Linked DNA regions of Homo sapiens: regions 2, 3 and 4 are each linked to region 1. Evidence: promoter capture Hi-C in human tissues and cell types (Jung and others, 2019). All regions are on one chromosome and are shown on one strand. Each heading gives the region's core, a stretch centred on a gene start or on the middle of the fragment in contact. The rest is flanking DNA. Distances are from core to core; before and after follow the strand shown. Region 1 holds the start of DAOA (D-amino acid oxidase activator). Region 2 has its middle 21 kb from the start of DAOA-AS1. Region 3 has its middle 45 kb from the start of DAOA. Region 4 holds the start of DAOA-AS1 (DAOA antisense RNA 1).

The links. Contacts are between HindIII fragments. The study calls those that stand out against the background at their distance.
Region 2: a fragment that was not itself captured here is called in contact with the fragment with the promoter of DAOA in region 1 in 2 of the 25 tissues and cell types used here (dorsolateral prefrontal cortex and mesenchymal stem cells).
Region 3: a contact is called between a fragment that was not itself captured here and the fragment with the promoter of DAOA in region 1, in 2 of the 25 tissues and cell types used here (dorsolateral prefrontal cortex and small bowel).
Region 4: a fragment that was not itself captured here is called in contact with the fragment with the promoter of DAOA in region 1 in 3 of the 25 tissues and cell types used here (dorsolateral prefrontal cortex, heart right ventricle and lymphoblastoid cells).

Annotation. Positions count from the first base shown.
Region 1 is chr13:105,464,220-105,467,497 of GRCh38, forward strand. DAOA (D-amino acid oxidase activator) reads left to right here and starts at 1,826. Exons shown (of 6, transcript NM_172370.5): 1 at 1,826-1,841; 2 at 1,997-2,113; 3 at 2,834-2,922. The coding sequence starts at 2,070. It overlaps DAOA-AS1 (DAOA antisense RNA 1), which reads right to left. Exons shown (of 7, transcript NR_040247.1): 5 at 1,968-2,201. The HindIII fragment of the contact is 13,308 bases long and covers 1-3,247 here.
Region 2 is chr13:105,524,771-105,528,048 of GRCh38, forward strand. No RefSeq gene overlaps it. Among named protein-coding and RNA genes, the nearest start is that of DAOA-AS1, 21 kb to the left of the region's middle. The HindIII fragment of the contact is 3,603 bases long and covers 1-3,278 here.
Region 3 is chr13:105,419,270-105,422,547 of GRCh38, forward strand. No RefSeq gene overlaps it. Among named protein-coding and RNA genes, the nearest start is that of DAOA, 45 kb to the right of the region's middle. The HindIII fragment of the contact is 6,564 bases long and covers 1-3,278 here.
Region 4 is chr13:105,505,297-105,508,574 of GRCh38, forward strand. It overlaps DAOA-AS1 (DAOA antisense RNA 1), which reads right to left and starts at 385. Exons shown (of 7, transcript NR_040247.1): 1 at 286-385. The HindIII fragment of the contact is 4,071 bases long and covers 1-3,278 here.

The DNA.
Region 1 (3,278 bases), core at 576-3,075:
TATTTGTGGAACAAATGAATTATTGATTCTTTGTATGAACAGTTCATTCTCAAGCAAACACCTGAACATCAACCTCTCCCACCCCACACCCCTTTTGAAATATTCTTCATAAAACTTCCTACTGTATGAAAGTATCTTCTGTGTGTGAATTTTTACAGTCTGCATCACCACATGGAATGTGAGATCCCTGAGAAAGGAGACTTTGTTTGTTTTGTTCCCCACAGTGCCTCAGTGTCTGAAATAGCACCTGGTAAATCATAGGGACTTCTGAAATACTTTCTGAATGGATAAATGAGTGGTAGGAAAAGTGTGAACATGGTAGATAAAAGAGAAGTCACCACTAGAACACCAAGTTCCTGACATACAGTTTCAAGGTCCAGCAACATAGTTGCTACGAACTAGCTGCCTTTAAAGTTCTCTAGATCAACTATATAGATTAGCAAGTCTTTTAACTAAGCATTAAGCAGAGTACTGCTCTGAGATTTAGCACCTCAGTCTTTTAGGTCCCTAAAGACTCCGGATTGGTTCCAGAGGTGGACTGTCAAATAGGAGGACTTTCTGCAGTAATGGAAATGGTCTATGTCAGTGCTGTCCAACATGGTAGCCAAGTGTGTGTGGTTATTGAGTACTTGAAATATGGCTAGTGGCACTGAGGAACTAAAGTTTTAATTTTAATTAGTTTAAGTAGCCTTAGGTTGCTAGGGGTTACCATATTGGATATTGCAGTTCTAGAGTTATTCTTCTCTCCTCATATTCAAAATTATCTTATGATGCTATCATAATTGAAAGATTAGCCAGGGACCCTATCATGGCTATGGCAGTCATGTCCTGTGAAAAATTCCATTAATGACCTCCACGTTTTATGATGTGTAGAGCAAAATCTCAGTCTCCCTGAGTAAGGCCTGCTCCATGTGGACACCTGGCTTTCTCCCTTGTCTACCTCCCTCAGTGGAGAGTCCACCTGCTGGTAGTGCACTCCTTAGGTGCCTGTCTCTGGCTGTCCTGTGCCACCTGCACAGAGTCATGCATGAGCTCCACTGTGGGAAGTCTCTAGAGATGAGCTGAGCTTACCCTACACCAACTGAAAGAGTCTATCTAAGTCCTGAAGATCACAAGTCATCCTCATATTCCCATGAATGTGAATGGAAGTTGGGCCTGCTCAGAGAATCATCAGGGCTCTTTATTGTGGCCTGGAGCCAACTGCCAAGGAGTGCCTAGGAACACACTCAGTAAGAGTGTTGCCCTCAGGCCAGATCAGACTTGAACCTGCAGAGAAATCCCCTAGGTATGTCAGCAATTGCTCATTTGGATGCTATAAACTTGAAGTTGTGAAAAATATAAAGACTTACATTATCCAGTCTCTCCTGGCAAAATATGTAGGTTTAATCATTCCTGAATTTTCCTTAGTTCACACAGATATACAAATATATATCCTAAAAATTGGCATTGGTAGGCGTGTCAAGTTATCATTTTAAAAACATAGAAACCTGAACAAGATGTATCACTCCAGTCTAGAATGTCTATATGCAGAGTATCCACAAAAAACCAAACTTCAACAGTCTTTCATGTCTATATTTCTTCAACATTCTTTGTCTTCAACATTCTTTCATGTCTAGAATGTCTATATGCAGAGTATCCACAAAAGACCCAAACTTCTTTCATTTAAAGAACCAAACTTCTTTAAATAAAAATGACTCACAATAATTTAATATTTTACCATTTACAAAGAGATTAACTACAACAATATTGATCTTGAGTTAATTTCCCACGAATAACATTTTCATTTCTTAAAATTTGCTGAATGGAAAGCCAGAAAGTAGAGTGAAGCAAGTAATGTGTGTGTGAGTAGTCATTGGATACATACATAACAGTGAGCAAGTTTATCAGCTCCTGCATGGCAGTGTTCTGATGATCTTTTGCTGCAAAAGAGCTACACCCCAAATTAGTGGCTTAAAGTAAAAGCTTACTAGTGTATATGATGATTCTGTTGGTCCAGGATTTGGAAAGGGCATGGCAGGAGGTCTCATCTCTGCTTCACAATGCCGATGATTTAGCTGGGAGGACCCAAAATGCTGGAAAAGCTGATGGGTGCTGATTCTCTCCAGCTTTTCAGGTAGGTAGCTTGGGGTTTTTTACAGCATGGCGGCCTCAGTGCAATGTGACATTTGCATGGCAGCACAGAGCTCCCAGGGTGAATGTTCCTGGAGACAGGAAGTGGAACATGTCAGGGTTGGAAGCCTGAGCCCAGTATATGGTTCAGCCTTACTTTCTCCCATATTCTGTCAGTCAAAGGAGAACCTAGCCAAGGATCACTCATGTTAATGAGGAGGAGACATAGGCCCTCACCTATCCCTGGGAGGAGGATCAAAGAGTTTGAATCTTTAATCCACAGCAGGCAGACAGCTTTCCATTGTTATAAACCACCTCCCCCTCACTCCATCTGCCTGTGCTAATTGTTTGCTCACAGGAATTTGTTTAGCACTGTGTAGAACTGGGATAACTTTGTGCTTATTTTGCAGTTAAAAGGGAGAGGCGCTAGTTTGGAGATTTTTAAAAAGCAAAGGTTTGAGAGCCAGTAAGACCTGGAGTGAACTCTCCTGTCAGCTATTTACCAACTGTATGACTGAGCAATTTATAAAAAAAAAATGCAAACCTCAATATCTTCATCTATAAAAATAAAAAAATAAGACGTATTTGGCTGAATAGTTAAGATTAAAAATATGAAAGTGCTAAACCATACATGTTATATGCTCCATTGATGTTGCTTATTCTTTCTCTCTTCTGCAGGGTATAAAGGAATCTGAACACGACTGATATTTTCTTTAATTTTTAGATCCAGATATACATTGGGTAAAATCTACTTCATAGGTTTTCAAAGGAGCATTCTTCTGAGCAAATCTGAAAACTCTCTAAACTCTATTGGTATGTTACTCTTTATCTTTATATGAATTTAAATTCTTCTAGAAGTTAGATAAAACTGTGGTAAAGCTACATAATACTTTTGACATATTTTCAAGCGTAGACAAACTTCAATTAATTTGTAAGATACAGGAAGAAAATTTTTCCAGTTAAAATGTACCTCTTGGTTTCTGGAGTGTTAGCAACCATTCACACTTACAGTTCAAACAGTGCAACCTTGTAAAACATATATAACTTATGAAGAGATCGATATCTCTTTTTATAAAGCAAACAAGTAAATTTTTCCCTCAATCCATGATTTATTTTTGTGAAGTGGGAATTTAAGGCAGTAGTTCTGCTTTCAAGTGAAAACCTGGATC
Region 2 (3,278 bases), core at 366-2,865, 60 kb after region 1:
CATTCTCCACCTCCACTCCTACACACTCAGGAGGTCAGCAGATCCCATTTCCACTACCTTATGGAGAAAATAGAAATCTTTTTTTTTTTTTTCTTGAGATGGAGTCTCTCTCTGTCACCCAGCCTGGAGTGTAGTGACATGATCTTGGCTCAATGCAACCTCCGCTTCCCAGGTTCAAGAGATTCTCCTGCTTCAGCCTCCCAAGTAGCTGGGATTACAGGTGCCCATCACCACACTTGGCTAATTTTTGTATTTTTAGTTGAGATGGGGTTTCACCATGTTAGACCAGGCTGGTCTTGAACTCCTGACCTCAGGTGATTTGCCCGCCTTGGCCTCCCAAAGTGCTGGAATTACAGGCATGAGCCACCATGCCCGGCCGAGGAAATTGAAATCTATCTCGCCTTCATGGTCCCCACTAACAAACATGAATATTTGTAGCTTCCCTCACTTTCTTCCTTCTAGACCCACCTTCTTCTCACATGTGTGATGGTTGCAGTGGTCCAGCTGTGAAAATGAACAGTCTAAAATGTCAAGAAAGGGCACAACACAATGGGAGTGTGTTTTTGTTCAACTATTACTGCAGGGATGTTTCTCGTTGTTCCATATTGAGGGTCTCTGCTTCCTTCGATTGTATGGTGCATCTCCTCCTATTGCTTCAGCTTTTCCATTCTGCTGGGAGAAGGGAAAAGCTTCTGCCTTAAAATGCCACATGTGATCTTTATGGCTGGAATTCAGTCACATGGCCACCCCTAATGAATGGGCATCTGAGAAAAGGAATCTGTTTCGCATCTGCAAGTCCAAGGAGAAATGAAAAGGAATGTATAGCCACTGTGCCTGACTAAGGATTCCTGCCTGCCTCTTGAGCTCACCCCTTCTCTCACCTCTACCTCAACACTTTGCTCCTTTTTTGCTGCATTATCTGTAATCACTCCTAACATGATGTCTCCTCAGCATATAAGCAAAATCATCTTCATTATTATCATCACCATCCACACTTGTTTAACACACATTCTTCTCCAGGTCAACAGCTGTTGGCCAGAGGTCATCATCAGCTTTTAGAGGCCACCTGTACCCCCTTCCTTATGTTCCCCGCCATCTTCAAAACTATTAATACCATGTCAAGTCCTTGTCAGGCTTCAAATATCTCTGTCCTGCCTCTTTCCCTTATCTGTCTGCCTTCTGCTTCTGCTAGTACAGACTCGTGTGATTACACTGGGCCCACCTGGACCACCCAGGATCACCTCCCTCTGTTAAAGTCAGGTGAATAGCAACATTAATTACAACTGCAAGTCCCTTCTGCCATGCATATAACATAATCACAAAGCTGGCACCGGGGGTGAAAGTCATAGTGAACAAAATTCTGCCTACCACATTGCATCAGGTTCCAACTTTGTAGTGTGTGTCAGAGCAGCCATTTCAATTCATTTCCTACGTTATTAACCTTCTGACTATACCATTAACTTTATGCCTAGGGAGACCATATGTCACAATTTGCCTGGGGCAGCTCTGGTTTATGTGTGCTATTTCAAGATTAGAATTCACAGCATCTCCTTTGATACTAGCTTGAACATTAAATCAGAGGTCACTTAATTGTATTCCATGCCCTGTCCCATTGTGTCCAGTTTTCTAGTTTCTAGAAATTCATTGTCTATTTCATGACTCTTTGCCTTTTTTAACAGCATTTATGCCTTCCACCTTTCAGCCTATCCTTCTCTTTGATGTCTTTCTGGGCATTTTCTAATTTCTCAGACACAGTTTACCTCCTCTATGAAGCCATCTTTATACCCATTTCTGATAATTTTCCATTTTTTTCTTTGTCCTGTCCCTGTACTTTTATATGCCAGTCTCATAGCAACTAAAACTTTTCTTTTTTTATTCCTGTCTTCTCTTATTAGGCTATAAGTTCTCAAGTCCAGGAAAGGTACCTTATCCTTCTTGATATTTACACACCCCAAATGGATCAGAGATAACCTGGTCCTTTCCATGATTTGGTCTGAAAAGGAAACAGGTGAACAGGCAACAGCCTGAGGCTCCAGGGAGTATATTTCAAAAGGAAACCCAACTCCCAAATAAACTCTTGACTTAGAGATTGGCTTGAAACTCACCAACTCTAGGTATCAATAACTGAAATGAAGACACAGTGTCCAGAACGTAAGAACCCATTCACCTGGAGCAGGAGATGTAGCTCGTCCATGCAAGGGTGGCATTAAAATGGAGATGAATTACAAACACATGTTTTCCTGAAGCTGTTGAAGCTTTGGTTCTTAAACAAAATCAAAGTTTACCATCTGCTGAAATAAGGTTGAGGTTTGTTAACATAGGGACTGGCTTCACCTTTACTCTCTTTGAAAGATTTGTGGGACAGTTTGCATTAGATGGTCATCAACAAGAACTGCAGTGTAGGTACACAAGAGGAAACATGGGCCATCGTCCTCCACCTCTCTCTTTGCATTTCAGGTGAGTCTGAGGAACAGGCTTTCTTAAAGCATATCAGGAAGCAGATTGACTGATATGCAGACTGCGTGACATCCGTTGCACTCTTGTGAACTGCCAGCCTGCTCTAAGTGCTGTGCATTGATACCATGGGTGTAATTGGATGGATGCAGTAAATGTGAATTGTAGGTAGCGGTATCAAAATTGCCATACGTGGCAGACTCTGTGCTAAATTTGTGCATTCTATAGTTTGGTGTTTCTATGCAAGGTAGCAACTAAGCTTCATTTCCTGAAACTCAGCAAAATAAATAAAAAAACCTTTCTGCATAGGAAAGCATTTCCACACTCCATATTATTTTTAGAGAAAAAAAAATGATGATTTGCAAATATAGTCAAATAAAAGTGCATTTCTAAATGGAACTGATTAGACTAGGTTCTTTGTAGCAAAACGTGTATTCAGTGTTTGGCTTTGTTCTCCCCACCACTGCCTGCCTGATCAATGGACTGCACAACTTTTAAAAACATAAGAACATTTTTTGTACTGTACCGCCCATGGTTTATTCTGTAGTTAGATTATTGCTTTTTTCGAATTTGGTAAAAAAAAAAAGGTGATGCTAACTTCTTTGCAATTGAGAGGCTTGTGGGTCTTTTTAATGACAGAATTTAAAATCTCTACGAGCAAAATTGTTTTGTAAGTAACTAATTATTATCTCAATAATTTTTACATTTTGTAAAACAACTACAACTCAAGCCATAATTAGGATCACTTGTATAAGTAACCAGTGAATCATGAGCTTCTTGAGGCTGTGTTGTAACTAGTTTTCCATATTTTCAAAGTGCCCTAA
Region 3 (3,278 bases), core at 214-2,713, 45 kb before region 1:
TTTCTCTAATAACCAGTGATATTGAGATTTTTTTCTTGTTTGTTGGCTGCATGAATGTCTTCTTCTGAGAAGTATCTGTTCATGTCCTTTGCCTACTTTTTGATGGGGTTGTTTGTTTTTTTCTTACAAATTTGTTTAAGATATGCACACATATGTTCATTGCAGCACTATTCACCATAGCAAATACATGGAATCAACTCAGATACCCATCAATGATAGACTGGATAAAGAAAATGTGGTACATATACATCATGGAATACTATGCACCCATAAAAAGGAATGATATCATGTCCTTTGCAGGGACATGGATGGAACTGGAAGCCATTATCCTCAGCAAACTAACACAAAAACAGAAAACCAAATACTACATGTTGTCACTTATAAGTGGGAGCAGAACAATAAAAACATATGGACACAGGGAGGGAAACAACACACTGGGGTCTATTTCGGGGTTGTGGGGAGGGAGAGCATCAGGATAAATAGCTAATGCATGCTGGGCTTAATACCTAGGTGATGGATTGATAAGTGTGGCAAACCACCATGGCAAATGCTTACCTATGTAACAAACCTTCATGTCCTGCACATGTATCACAGAACTTAAAATAAAATATAATATACTTTTTAAACTTCTGATTAAGAAAAAACATAACTAAGACACAAGGCATCAGGATCCTAAGAGAATCACAGAAATAGTAGTATGGCAATATCATCTTTGGCAAAATTTATGTTCCCTGAAATTAAGGTCTGGTCTGTCTTGTCCTCCCGTAAATTCTGTTTTCTTAAATACATGGCCCATGCTTGTTTAATGAAAGCTGAGATATACTGAGAATGATTTAGGGGAATGAGAAAATGGCTTTTTGGAGGAGGTGACATTTAAAGTAAACTTTGACAAAGTATAAGGTCTTGCTTTGATGACCAGTATCTATTTTCTTTTTTGACAATTATACTCAGTTTCTTTGAAAAGAAATGTCTTTTCTATTGTGGGCTGTCTTGAGGAAGCTGTCAATCAATATACTCTTTTTTTGCCCTGAGTCTCTTTCCCAGTATCTGACCCTGACATCAAAGAATACAAGGAAGCAAAACACACGTGCAGCTTATTTATTCCTGAGGCAGGGCCTATGTGAGTCTGTAGACTAAGTTCCTTACAGGGATGCTGTTTGACATGTCCTGTCTGAGTCAGACTATGTAGCTGTTTCTTTGATTTTGTGATCTACCCATCATCCTTACACATTGACATTTTTGCTTCAATCAAGCAGGTAGAATTGTTTTAGTTTATTGTTAATAGTAGTCAAACAACACAAGTTGGTGCAATAATTAACATACCAAAAAGTTTTGCTTTTTTATATTTACGTAACTATTATATTTCATGGAAAATTTCACAGTTTGCTGAGCATTAGAACATAGAGGGGGGAAACAAACTCACAAACCTAGTTCCCCTGCCAACCAAATTGTAGATAGCTGAGTTCCAGGTAGTCTTCATACAAATTTGCCATGGAATGTTAGACAATTCACTGAGCCATTTGAAAAGTTAGTTTATAAAAGTTACCATCCTGCACTTATCTAATATTATATCAATCAACTGATCATTACCATGATTCTAGCTATATTCTTTATATTGTGAAGTTTTCATTGATTTTGACAGTGTTTTTGGTGTGCTATTATGGAATACAGTCATGTGAAGCCTGGCTTCACGTGTGCAAATCTATGCCCTGTAGAGAAAGGAGGAGGGATCATGAGAAATTCCTTTACTGACCAAGCGTCCTCACTGATGAATTGAGAAAGAGGATACCTGTGTGTGTTGGTGGAGGTGGGGGGAGTCCCTTTATTTATTTTTTTTCTTTAATGCTTCTGTTCTTTCCAGTATGCTTTAAAATAAAATATTGAAAATCTTCTAAGGAATAAAGGCATGCAGGTTAGGTGAACAAATAAAGAGTGTGTTTGTTTATAATGGTAGTATATCAACGATTTCAGCAGTGAAAAGACTACTGCAGAAGGGTTTGGGGAAACACAGTTTCCACATAAACATTCTTTTGGTCTTCATTTATTCCATCTGGAAAATAAAAACTAATAACCATATGATTTTAATCAAAAGACTATCTGGGTCAGAGTAGGGAATTTCCAAGTGCCCTTCAGCTGATTTTTCTGAGTTAGCAACGTAACTGGGATGTAAGGGTAGGCTTAGAGGGTGACACTCCATTGGCCTTTGCTTCTCTTTTACATCATAAAGAAAGACTCCTAGATTTGATAACCAAATTTAGTGAATTCTCAATTTACAAAATCATTGTACACAAATCATTAGCATTGCTATGCACCAACAACAACCAAGCTGAGAATCAAATTAAGAACTCAACCCCTTTCACAACAGCTGCAAACATACAAAAATAAAAAAATAAAATGCCTGGTAATATAGTTAACCAAGGAGGTGAAAGATCTATACAAGGAGAACTACAAAATATTGCTGAACAAAATTGTAGATGAAACAAACAAATGGAATCACATCCCATGCTCATGGGTTGGAAGAATGAATATCATGAAAATGACCATACTGACCAAAACAATCTACAAATTGAATGCAATTGCTATCAAAATACCAATATCATTTTTACAATACTTTTTAAAAACGTAAAATTCATATGGAACCAAAATAAGAGCCCGAAAAAGAGCAATTCTATGCAATAAGAACAAATCTGGAGCCATCACGTTACTGGACTTGAAACTATACTACAAGGCTATAGTTTCCAAAACAACGTGGTACCAGTATACAGTAGACACATACACCAAAGGAACAGTATAGAGAACCCAGGAATAAATCCAAATACTTACAACTGACTTAATTTTGACAAAACGTACAAAATCATAAATTGGGGAAAGTACCCACTGTTTAATAAATGGTGCTGGGAAAACTGGCTAGCCACATGTAGAAGAAAGAAACTGGATCTCTCAACTTATACATACATCCATTAAAGATGGATCAAAGACTGAAATCTAAGACCTGAAACTATAAATTTCTAGAAGTTAACCTAGAAAAAACTCTTCTGGACATAGGCCTAGGCAAAGAATTAATGAATAAGACCTCAAAAGCAAATGCAAACGTAAACAAAATAAATTAATTGGCCCACATTAAACTAAAAAACTGCTGCACAGCAAAGAAATAGTTATCAGAACAAATAGACGATCTCCAGAATAAGAGAAAATATTTGCAAACTGTGCATCAGACAAAATATTAATATCTAGAATCTACAAATAACTCAAACAAATCAGCAAGAAAAAAAAACCAT
Region 4 (3,278 bases), core at 379-2,878, 41 kb after region 1:
AGCAAGGAAGCCAGTCTGAGTCCCAAAACTGAAGAACTTGGAGTCTGATATTCAAGGGCAGGAAGCATCCAGCATGGGAGAAAGGTGCGGGCTGGAAGGCTAAGCCAGTCTAGTCTTTTCATTGATAAAAGAAAAACTTCAGCTGAATTAATTTAAAGGAGTTTAACTGAGAAATGAACGATTCGCGAATCCGGCAGTCCCCAGAACCACAGCAGACTCACAGAGGCTCCAGGGGTGCCTTGTGGTCAGAATAAATTTATAGACAAAAAAGGTAAAGTGACGTACAGGAATTAGAAGCGAGGTACAGAAACAGTGAGATTGGTTCCAGCTCGGCGTTTGCCTTATTTGAACGCAGTTTGAACAAAAGCAGTCTATGAGTGGTTGAATCCCACTGGGACTGGGCAACATTCAGCCATTGTTACAGTGCATACTATTAAATTAGGTTTTAAATTTTGTCTGACTATTAAGCTAGGTTACAGTTCATCCACAAGGACTCACCTATAGAAGTACAGAGTCCTTCTCAGGCCATATTTAGTTTGCTTAACCATCATGATTTTCTGCCTTCTTTATATCCCGGCCGAGCTGGTAGCTGATTTAGTTGCTGCCCACCCAGATAAAGGGTGTGTCTGCCATTCCAGCCCACTGACTCAAATCTCCTTTGGCAACACCTTCAAAGACACAACAGCATCAATACTTTGCATCCTTCAATCCAATCAAGTGGACACTCAGTATTATCCATCACGGGCATATATTAAAATATATTTAAATGATACTAATGTATTAAACATAGCAATATAGAACTCTCCTGTAAAATAATAAACAGCACAGACCAGTTTTGAGAATAAGTGAGTTAAGGGTCTAAGCTTAAGTCTGGCTCTACCACTCGCAAATTGGATTTCCTTATAACGTCTCAGTTCCCACATCTGCAATATGATGAAGAACAATTAGCTCATGGCTTAACTTAAAGCAGGTGTTCCCAAACATTGCCATTCATGAAACTCACCAGGGGCAATTTAAAAATGTTAATGCCAGATTACACCCTACACCAATCAAAACAGAATCTCTATGGATGGGATCCAAACATCAGTATTTATTAAATCTCCTGTTTCTCAAACTTGAGTACATGGTAGAATATCCTGAGAATTTACTAAAGCCTGTATCCCATAGCAATATTTTAAGAACACTAATTAGAACAGTGTTTCTAAAGCTTTAAGGTGCATGAGAATCACTTGGGAATTTTGGAAACAGCAGATTCTGATTCAGCAGGTCTGGGTGGGCCTGAGAGGTGTATTTCTAACCAGCACCCTGGGAACGCTGATGCTGCCGGTTCACAGATCACACAGCTAAGCATCCAGGGCTTAGACTTCCAGCACAGCCGTCCAGCTGGTGGCAGGTGTGTAGAAATACGGACCCGCTCGTCCTTAATTGGTCTCCTTCCGTCACACTGTCCATGTGTGCTGTGCCAGCATTATCACCTTCTATCTGTTTCATCATAAGAAATCTGGGAAACCCTGGTTTCGATGTGTAAGTGTACAACACACCTAAGAGGGTTACTAGTATATGGCGGCTGTTCAATAAAGTTCATTGACATACATTGAAAAGTGTTTGTCTTCGAACTAGAACTGTAATAATCCCCTAATTCTTTTCAACCCTTGACCTGGTACAGCCCCAGCTTGCCTTCCCCCACTCCAATCACTTTCACACTTAGTGTGTAGTTAGGTTTTTGTTTGTTTGTTTTTTGGAAAAATAACACAGGGCAGGAGGAGGGAAGGAACTTTGTTTTTCTATACTGTTCTTATAAAAGGTGTGATGCTGGGAGCTCTGAGGATATAGGGGCTATCTGGTAATATCCCCGACTTATTTTGTTTATTAAAACCTCTCTTAAGAAGAGATTTTCTGTAATCAGGAAAAACTCCCAAATAAAGCCTCAGAGTTCCAACTGCAATAGTAGTTCCTAGTGAGGAGTGTAAATTCTGACACTTCCCAGAGGACTTCAGAATTGGAAAGGGATAACTAATAATCGTGAGATTTCTGATGATAGCTCTACCATGAACCAGCTCTGTGTCTTGAGATAAATTATACAATTTATTGAGTTCTCAGTTATCCCATTTGTAAAGTGAAAGTAATAATATCTTCCCTGAATATTTCATAAGAATAGAAGAGACAAAAATAGCTATGTAGAGTCTGAAAATTAACAAAAAATTGTCATTTTTATTATTTATACTATTTAAATCAGCATGATATTTAAATTGGTTTCTTCTTGTTACTAAATAGAGCGCTAGGATTATTCTGCATTAAAACGAGTTCCAAAATAAATAAAGGTTGTATTTTATGGTATTTCCCACCTATAATTGTAAGCAGTATCTTTCAGTCTAAGTTTTTGTGATTAACTTTTGCGTATCCTAAATAATAACCATTATTGAGTGATTCAACAGAATGCTAGTTTCTTAACATAAACTTTACTTGATAATTCCTGAGCATTTGAGGGTCTTGCATTCAAACTGCAAGACATAGGCAGCCATTCCTGTTTAAAATAGAGTTAAACATATTGAGTCCTTTATTGAAAGGACAAAAAGAATACAAATTCTCAGAAAATTCCTAATTTTAATGTAGATGGTAAAAGTTAATTTTATAATAATTAACCTTATCAGTTAAATTCTTACTCTTTTGAGAAGTAGCACGGATGCAATTTCTTTATTTCCTTGTATTGAAATCTTTTTATATTACTACATCTTTCCAAGTTGAAATAGTTTGGCCAAAGGATCTCCCCCAAGATAAAGCATTTCTTTTAATGTTGCAATGACTGCATTCTAGCACTTTTTCTCTTTTTTATACCACACTTTACTCTTCTTATCTCTGAAGGGCCTATTCAACACCTGTGCACACACTATGGCTTCAACAATATGCCATCTTGGGGAGTTTCCGGTAGCTTATAATTTTGATCAACTAAAGCAAATCTCTCTCAATTTTTTTTTAAAAAGAGCGAGCGTTTTTCCCAGTAAAAATCCCACCGTGTATTTGAATAAGCGTTATTATTTTAGATACTTCATATAAGTGGAATCATGCAATATGTGTCCTTCTGTAACTGGCTTATTTTATTTAGCATAATGCTCTCCAGGTTTATCATTCTGTTGCAGAGGTGAAAGGAGGGAGAAATGGCAAGTTGCTGTTCAACAGTAATGGTACAGAGTTTTATTATGGAAGATGAATAAGCTCTTGAAGTCTGCTGTGCAACATTGCACCTATAGTTAACAACACAACAGTGGGTGTGTAAAAAT